3 separate regions of the Homo sapiens genome follow, and all the other regions are linked to region 2. The links are contacts of gene promoters, found by promoter capture Hi-C in human tissues and cell types (Jung and others, 2019). All regions are on one chromosome and are shown on one strand. Each heading gives the region's core, a stretch centred on a gene start or on the middle of the fragment in contact. The rest is flanking DNA. Distances are from core to core; before and after follow the strand shown. Region 1 overlaps SLC25A21 (solute carrier family 25 member 21). Region 2 holds the start of SLC25A21-AS1 (SLC25A21 antisense RNA 1). Region 3 overlaps SLC25A21 (solute carrier family 25 member 21).

Evidence for each region. Contacts are between HindIII fragments. The study calls those that stand out against the background at their distance.
Region 1: a contact is called between a fragment that was not itself captured here and the fragment with the promoter of SLC25A21-AS1 in region 2, in 1 of the 25 tissues and cell types used here (heart right ventricle).
Region 3: a fragment that was not itself captured here is called in contact with the fragment with the promoter of SLC25A21-AS1 in region 2 in 1 of the 25 tissues and cell types used here (dorsolateral prefrontal cortex).

Annotation. Positions count from the first base shown.
Region 1 is chr14:36,700,098-36,702,948 of GRCh38, reverse strand. The region is part of intron 7 of SLC25A21 (solute carrier family 25 member 21); the gene reads left to right. Among named protein-coding and RNA genes, the nearest start is that of PAX9, 40 kb to the right of the region's middle. The HindIII fragment of the contact is 5,988 bases long and covers 1-2,851 here.
Region 2 is chr14:37,170,402-37,173,340 of GRCh38, reverse strand. It overlaps SLC25A21-AS1 (SLC25A21 antisense RNA 1), which reads right to left and starts at 1,315. Exons shown (of 1, transcript NR_033240.1): 1 at 1-1,315. It overlaps SLC25A21 (solute carrier family 25 member 21), which reads left to right and starts at 735. Exons shown (of 10, transcript NM_030631.4): 1 at 735-1,060. The coding sequence starts at 991. RefSeq lists enhancers at 462-1,040, 1,041-1,620. The HindIII fragment of the contact is 15,552 bases long and covers 1-2,939 here.
Region 3 is chr14:36,762,930-36,765,904 of GRCh38, reverse strand. The region is part of intron 3 of SLC25A21 (solute carrier family 25 member 21); the gene reads left to right. Among named protein-coding and RNA genes, the nearest start is that of PAX9, 100 kb to the right of the region's middle. The HindIII fragment of the contact is 3,313 bases long and covers 1-2,975 here.

The DNA.
Region 1 (2,851 bases), core at 260-2,759, 470 kb after region 2:
TCCCTAGTGGGGATATGTAGCGGGGAGGGGGTATGGGAGAGGGCAGAGAGCAGAGAGCCAGGGGTTCAAATACTTCCTTAAATAAATTTCAGGCCAGTCAGACACTCCCCAAGTGGATGGAAATGAGGTGCAAGTAGCTTTAGGTTCTCAGTGGGTCTATTCTATTCATTCATTCCAAAAGTATTCATGGTGCATCTACTGTATGTTGGGCACCCTCTTAGGAAGCATCAGCATTGCTCCTCTCTTAATGACGTTTACAGTCTAATAGAGGAAATAGACAATAAACAAATCATTGCACAAGGAACTGAATCATTCCAATTGTGCTAAGTGCCATGCAAGATAACTATCAAGCTGTGAGAATTTATAAACAAGTATTCTAATCTAGACCCATGATGGGGCAGGGAGATGGTGTAGGGAAGTCCGTTTTCTTTTTTTTTCTTTTTCTTTCTTTCTTTTTTTTTTTTTTTTTTTTTGTGGAGACAGGATCTCCCTGTGTTGCCCAGACTGATCTCCAACTCCTGGGCTCAAGTGATCCTCCTGCCTCGGCCTACCAAAGTGCTGGGATTACAGGGATGAGCCACCGAACCTGGCTAGAAAGGTCTTTTTTGGAAACAATGTTTGGGCTTGGGCTGAAGGATGAGGACAAACCACGCCAACCTGAAGAGGTTGAATGAACCAGGCAGAAAGAACAGGAATGTGACTATCCTGAAGCAGAAAGAAACTCAGGGACCCCAGAGAAGATTAAGAATGAGTGTTGCTGGTGCATGGAGAACCAGTAGAGAAGGAGAAATGGAGGCTGCAGAGGTTAGCTTGACCAGAATGTTTTAGGCACATAATATAAAGGCAACTTACTCCCCTTAAATTATTTAACTGGGGGTTATATGGAACAGACATATTACATAAGTGGAACTAAATGGACATGGGAAAGTTTCATGTATGGAAGTTCACAGGTATAATCTCATTGAACTAGCTTGGTTCAAAGACTTCTTCTTGATTATCTCTCTACCTCCATGTTGAAGCATCTCAGTGTGCTCCCTCTGGTTTCTCAATCTCTAGAGTTTTGTTTTGGGAACCTGGCTTGCTAGTTTTCCTTGGGGTCAGTGCCTTTATTGAGTCAAGGAACAGAGAGAACACACTACAACAGAAATATCCTGCTGGGTTCCCAAGGAAATATATAAATACTTTCCTGTATTCTATATAATACTCAATACATAATTAATTCCTAGGTGGTATTATCTAACCACCTGAATATATAGGTATATACAATACATATTATATCTGTGAAATATATACAGGAGATGATATAATCAAGAGATAACTATTATGCCTAAACCATAATCCATTTTGACATTATATATATGTATATTTTATAATTTGAGCTAAGTGGGTAAAACCTTTAAAATTATTCTACATTTTACAATACTTTAAAGAACAGACAACTTAGAGGAAAAAAAGGAATTTTCATGGCTATTTTCTGAATGGCTACATTTAGATGCAGAGGTTTTAACAAGACTTTGATTTCATTCCAAAGCCCAGAGCCCTGCAAGGATAGGATCTTAGGAATACTCCACATTCCTTAAAGAATGCTTATCAGTTGAAGCATCTCATTTTAGTTAGTGACCTTCTGTGGAGTGGGGAGCTAGCATTTCCCTAAATTATCTCGCATGAAGAGAAAACAAACACTGTAATAGATTCCTCTGATAGCAGTGAAGTAAAAACAAATGTATTTTTTAATTAAGCTTCAATAGCAGATATTTTCACTGGGGACAAAATAGCAGGATACCATGACATTGGGAGGAAAATGTTTTTGTCAAAGTTTATGAACAAAACAACAAAAGAGAGCCAAGATTAGAAGGAATGAAAGTTGTATAGTGAGAGCTGACTCTACTTGTAAGCTGACTTGGACCTATTAGAACTAACAATAGCTAAAATGCAAATTTCCTCTTAAAAAAAAGGCAGTTCACTCTCACTTAAGCTGCCTCCTTGTTCAGTTACCAGGAGGCAACTATGATTCCAATGCACCACATCATTTTCATGACCACCATACCCAGCTGTGGGCAAGACAATGATGAGCTGCTATTATTTGCCTTGCGGTTGCTACCAGGTGCTTAACCAGTGTGTGTATCTGCCTCCTTTGTAATTTGCTTCTGAAACCTTGGTTCTTTGTTTATTATGTTTTATTAAAGGAAGCTAAGGCATTTATTACATACCTATGATGTGTCAGGCTCAGTAAATACACAAGAGGAGGGTGACATGGCATATCCCTTTTCTTTAGATATTTTGAACAAGTCTTCAAAAAGAGTGTGAGAGCCTGTTGCCTGTCTCCACTAACTCCTTTCAAAGGCCTGACCCTAGGCAATCTGACCCCAGGGCCCATGCTCTTAATCATTGTACTCTACATACTTCTTCAAATATGTGGACACATGACCCTTTGGGTCTTTCTTTCTTCAGAGTATACCCACAGCTGCCCATTCACTCTTCTGGTGACATGGCTTCCAGTCCTCTGAGCAGCCCATCTGTCCTACTATAGTGCATCACATTTGTCCATATCAATGTCAGATCTAAACAGAATACTGCAGTTTTTCATTGATCAAATGCAGAGTACACTAGGATCAAGCATTCCTGTGACATGAACACACACCTTTCTTAAATGCAGCCAAAGACTGTGCACAAATAGATTGTGGGGGATTTGTTGGAAGAAGGGGATGGAAAGGAAGGGAGGAAGAATGTGTTTTATTTTTACATCAAGAAGTTGGCATGGTCTGGGCACAGTGACTCATGCCTGTAATCCTCGCACTTTGGGAGGCTGTGGTAGGAGGATAGCTTGAGGTGGTATTGTATTAAATTTTGG
Region 2 (2,939 bases), core at 66-2,565:
ATTAGTAGTTTTGTTTTGGTAACTATCCTAAGGGGCTAGTAAGAATAATCAAACATTTTATTGAGAGAATATACTGTTAAGTTCCTTAATGTTCCTCAATTGTTTAAGTCAGTGGTTCACAACCTTTAAAGTTCATGACAATCAACAGAGAACTCGTTTCTGGGCCCTATCCCCAGAGATTCTGATTCCGTTTAGGTCGGGGTGGGACCCACGAATTTGACTTCCTAACACATTCACAAATTATGCTGATGCTGTGGGTACTAAAACCACTTTTAAGAACCACTGACCTGGGTATAGAAGAAACTATTTGTAACCAGGCTTTTTCTTCTTTTGGTCCTTAGGTAAATAAAACTCAAGTTGATGAGGTATGATTTTACCTTAAATCAAAACCATTTTTGGTAAAGTACTACCTTAGCTCTATTGTAAGGTAAGTGTAAATTAGATTTGCTTTGACTTAGTTGCTACAGACCACAATTATAGGACAACTAACTGAGGAATTTATTCACTTGTCCCTTCTTTTGAACCTCACTGTGCTCTGGCTTGCCAGGAGGTGCAAGTGTCGTCCCCGCTTTGTACTTGGCGCTCCAGGCCTGGGTCACTTCACTTGAGTTATCAGAGGCAACCGTCTAGTTTGACAAACTACCGGAGGCTCCTGATAGAGAAGGGCGTGGGCGCCAATCTAGGAGACAAAGCCTGAGCCGCTGCGGTGAGCCAACCCAAACCCATCCGCGGGTCTTCTTTCCAGAGACATTTTCGGAGCCGAGGGCGCCTCTGCGAGAGCGCTGCGAACAGGTTCCGACGCGCCGGAGATCGCGCGACGAATCTGCGCCTCGAACCCTCGCTTTCCAGCAGTCGCCGGATTGCTGCTCCACAGGGAGCCAACGCGCTTGAGGACCAGCCCAGCCGGGGCTCTCTGGATCAGTAGGCTGTGCAGGCTGCGAGCTCGTTGACGCATCTCAGCCCACTCCCTTGTCCTCCCGCCTGGCGAAGATGTCCGCCAAGCCTGAAGTCAGCTTAGTGCGCGAGGCTTCTCGGCAGATCGTGGCCGGTGGTTCTGCAGGTAAGGACAGCCCGCCCTGCCCCGCCGGAGGCTAGTCGCTTTCCCCACCGCGTGTCCTGAAACCGTTGCCCAGACAGGTCTCCTTACTGAAGTTCTGCCCTCTTCCTCAAAATTCAGCGCTCCCGGAGCAGTGCTTGAGCCCCTAGAGGCGCGAGAGCAGAGGAGGCCGGGAGTTGATTGCGAGTAGTGGGTGCCCCAAGTAAAGTTGCCTCGGCGTCCGCGCCGGCCGCTCTCGGGTTCCCGGCATTGTCCGTTCCTAGCCTGTAAAGCAAGTGGCAGAGCCCCAAGGGCAGCGACTTTGAGGCGGTCTTTTTGCCTTGCTACCTATTTTACTTGAAAATGATCCAGTTCGGTCTGACTTAGTTTTATCAATTGTAGAGTCTTTCTTCAAGCTCGCTCAGGTCTTACATAAATCCTGCATTCCTCATCAAAGTACTTACAGGACTCCACAGGACTTCTTATTGCATACTGTGCTTGCTTGGGGATATTCGTGCCTTAAATAAGGATATTAAAATTAAATGCATATGTAACACACATAAACACCTTTGATATAATGGGCTCACGTTAATTTATAGAGTTATGCTGTGGGGAAAAAATAAACCTTTAGAAAAAAATGTTGTAATTAATCTTAGAAATACTTTTAAATGTAGCTGGAGAAAGTTACTAACCACGACATGTGTTATGTGCAAGTATTTTAAAGCTATTTTAAAATATAAATTATGATTTGGTTTAAAATTTTATCTTACAGTCATGCATTTTTATTATAAATATATAATTAAAATAATTGCCATAATTGGCTCATAACCAGAAAACATTTTATAAATCTAGCCATTCTTTCAATAAATTATAGTAACTCTAATAAATCCTGTTAAGGCAATGACTAGAAAATGTTTAATGTTTAACTTCGACTAGTAAAAGTTTCTGTATTTTCAAACAAATTTGGACTTTTTGTAAGGGATTACTGCAAATTATGACTGGTTATCATTATGTCATGATCTACTTGCATCTCAGGAGTAACGTAAGCAGCCACGTGTCACTTACAATCTGTACACTTTCTTAAAGATGGTATTTCATCAATATCACATTAGAGCCATTCATTGCTTACAGGAAATTGTAAAATCTTTCCCCTCCCCTCCCCACCCCTCCCCTCCCCTCCCCTCCCCTCCCCCCTTTTTCTTTTCGATGGAGTCTCTCTCTGTTGCCCAGACTGGAAGGCACCGGAGCTGGATTGCCATGGCGCGATCTCGGCTCGCTGCTCCAACTCCCGGGTTCAAGCAATCCTCCCATCTCAGCCTCCTGAGTAGCTGGAATTACCGATGCGCATCACCATGCCGGCTATTTTTTTTTTTAATTTTTTTTGTAGAGACGGGCTTTCGCCATGTTGCCCAGGCTGGTCTCAACCTCCCGGGCTCAAGTGATCCTCTCACTGCAGCTTCCAGAGTAGCTGGGACTACAGGAGCCCACCACCATGCCCGGCTAGTTTTTTGGGGAGGTGGGGGAAGGGGATTTTTTTTTTTGTAGAGTCAGGGTTTCACCATGTTGTCCAGGCTGGTCTCCAACGCCTGGGTTCAAGCAATCTGACCCCCTTGACCTCCCAAAGTGGTGGGACTACAGGCGTGAGCCACCACCCGTTATTATAATTGCAGTGGCCCCACTGCTTGCTCTTTCAGTTTTCCAATTGTGATGATGAATTTGCACCAATTTATTTACCATTTTTGGTCAAATTCCGCAATGCCTAAGGTTCTGTCTTCTGTACCTGACTCGTTGATTTGTAGTCTATGACCCTGATGAAAGAAAACTCAGCTAGTCCAAAGAGAAAGTGAGGCCAATTGATTAACATCCTAAGCTAAGACTGATGACTCATAAGCACCTGTATGCT
Region 3 (2,975 bases), core at 206-2,705, 410 kb after region 2:
CAGTGGGCAGTCCAGATAGGTAGGAACCTGTACTCAGGATATACCTTGAAACTAGAGGCTTAGACCTGCATGTATTGCCATCTGTATGGAGGGGCGAGAAGGTGAAGAGAGTAAATAATATGCAAGTGAGAGAAGGGAAAGTTCAACGGCTTTGATCCTTTGTTTCAAGATGTTTCAAGATCCTTTGAAACATACACGTTGAGGGTAGCAGAGGAAAAGGATACACAGAGGAATGCCAAGACAGTACAGTGTGGAACCTTCTTCCTGTCTTTAACTTTTCATCTTTTCTAGTATAATCTGAGTTTTCCCAGGCCACAGCATACTGGAAGCACAACAGTAAGCCATGATATACAATGTTGGCTTCTCTCTCTGGCAACCATCTTCTAAATCATTGGTACTTGTACTTTTCCTTCAGGCCTCTGTTTCCAGTCATCCTCTGCTGTGTAGCAAACTACCCCAAAACACTGGGGCTTAAAACAACCATGTTATTTTGTTTACCCTTTTGAGGGTTAGGAATTTGGGAAGGGCTTGGCTGGGTGCTTCCCCTCTGCTCCATGTAGTCAGCTGAGGCAGCTGGAGCTAGATGATCACTTCCAATGTGGTCTCTTTACTTGCGTTTCTGGTCCTGCAATGCTCCTTGGCATTTCGCTCTCTCCACATGAAGTCTCATCCTCCAGGGCCTCTTCATGCAGCCTGGGCTTCTTAGAGCATGGCAGCCTCAGATTAGTCAGACTTCTTAGCAATGCAGGACACTAAGAACAAGCATTTCAAAATATGGAGCTGGAAGCTTCTAGCTGCATAAGGCCTGGGCCAAGTGACTGGCCCAGCATCACTTCTCCCATATTCTATTGGTCAAGGAAATCACAGAGCCCATTGAGATTTAAAGAGAAGGGACATAGGCCCTCCTGGCCTCTCAACTAGTTTTGGAAGTCTGCTCAAAATGCTTATCTGTTCTTAAAAGCAAGATGGCCCGTAATCTTGTGGCTCACCATGTTCTTCCTCCCAGTTCAGATCCTCTGTGCAGAAGGATTCCTGCAATACATGTAGCCATATGAGGTGTCTCTTCACAGACCCTGCTGGGGACCTGCCATCAGAACAACAGTTTAGGGGCACCGCCTCCCATTACTAAGGAAGCTGCAGTTGCTGCCTCCCCTGCTGATGGAGTACTTGACATTGGGCCACTGGCTGAACTGCTGGAGCTCCAAACACTTCAAAGCATGCTGGGTCCTAAGCCAGAGAAGGGATGTGTGTGTGTATGTGGGCATGCGTGGTTTTTTTTTTTTTTTTGGAGTGTGTGTGTGTGCATGCATGGTTTTTTTTGTTTTTTGTTTTGTTTTGTTTTGTTTTGTTTTGGCTTTTTTTTTTTTTTTGGAGTGTGGGTGAGTGTGCATAAATCTGGAATCCCTTCTGTTACTATTACCTCGTTCTTCACGCGTGGCAGCTTGTGCTTCAATCTCATGGAGCCTATATAAGAAAACCACTCTCCTTGGGCTGGCTTTTTTTCTCCATGGTTTCTGTTTGTAATTCATGGCTGCCTTCCCCAGGACACAGACACAGTTTCTACTGGGGGCTGGGCCAGGGGAGCCATCTCAATGAAAGGCAAGGCTGTGACTCAGAGAGGTGGCATTGTTATTGGACCGAGTGAGTGTTCCTAGCTGGCTCCTCCCTTGAGATGAGTTTTGTCCTGGGAAGCTAACAGTTTCTTTCTTTCTCTTTCTTTCTTTCTTTCTTTCTTTCTTTCTTTCTTTCTTTCTTTCTTTCCTTCTTTCCTTCTTTCCTTCTTTCCTTCTTTCCTTCCTTCCTTCCTTCCTTCCTTCCTTCCTTCTTTCTTTCTTTCTTTCTTTCTTTCTTTCTTTCTTTCTTTCTTTTTCTTTCTTTCACAGAGTCTTGCTCTGTCACCCAGGCTAGAGTGCAGTGGCACGATCTCCACTCACTGCAACCTCCACCTTCTGGGTTCAAGCAATTCTCCTGCCTCACCCTCCCAAGTAACTGAGATTACAGGTGCCCACCATTGCACCTGGCTAATTTTTGTATTTTTAGTAGAGACAGGTTTTCACCATCTTGGCCAAGTTGGTCTTGAACTCCTGACCTTGTGATCCACCTGCTTCGGCCTCCTAAAGTGCTCGGATTACAGGCATGAGCCACCTCACCTGCCTGGGAAGCTAAACAATTTCTAATAATGGACTTGATAGGCTGCCTTTTCTGGTCTTCCCGGTGTGCTCTACTGTGTCTGATTCCTACATGAGCACCCACATCAAATCAAGCAAGGACCCCTCTACAACAGTAAAAAGCTATTTCCAGACCCCCTACCACCACCACCCAAATACCTGAGGTGGTCCAGTAAGCATTTCTTACCCAGCACAAACAGTTCAAAGTTCTTCCTGTTTCCCTTCCCTCCAGTGGCAGAGTGATTAAGAGGCAGAGTTCTCTTTGAAAACATTCATCCCCTTTGTAATAGTGTAATATCCTCTCCCTCCCAGTGGACTGGAAACCCCACAAGGACAGGGAAAAAGTTTATGTGATTCACCCTAATATCTCCAGCACTAACTGAGTCCAACTTAGCAGCACTCAGTAAATATTTGTTACACAAATAAAAGAGAATGATTTAATGAGTGAGCAAATAGACAAATGAATGTTCTTACAGTCCTAAATCCTTCCAGAGAAAAACTCAGATCTGGGCCTCTGTGATAATAATTAAATACTATCTCAGAATCAGTGTTTTCATTTTTCATTTGTGTTTGGGAGTCTGCATTAGATATAATTTAGTTAGCATGTTTTGCTTGTTTTATAAAACAACTCTTACTTTTTGAAATTCCAAGACCTAATCTCTTTGCTTTTCGTGCTTTAAGGCAGGCATTTTAAACTACAGGAAGATAATTATGACATGATGTTCACCTTCTTATGGTAGTTGTAAGCTCATGTATCCACATAGCTACCAGGGTCTATATAATTTAGGTAATAGGTTTATTTTTGCT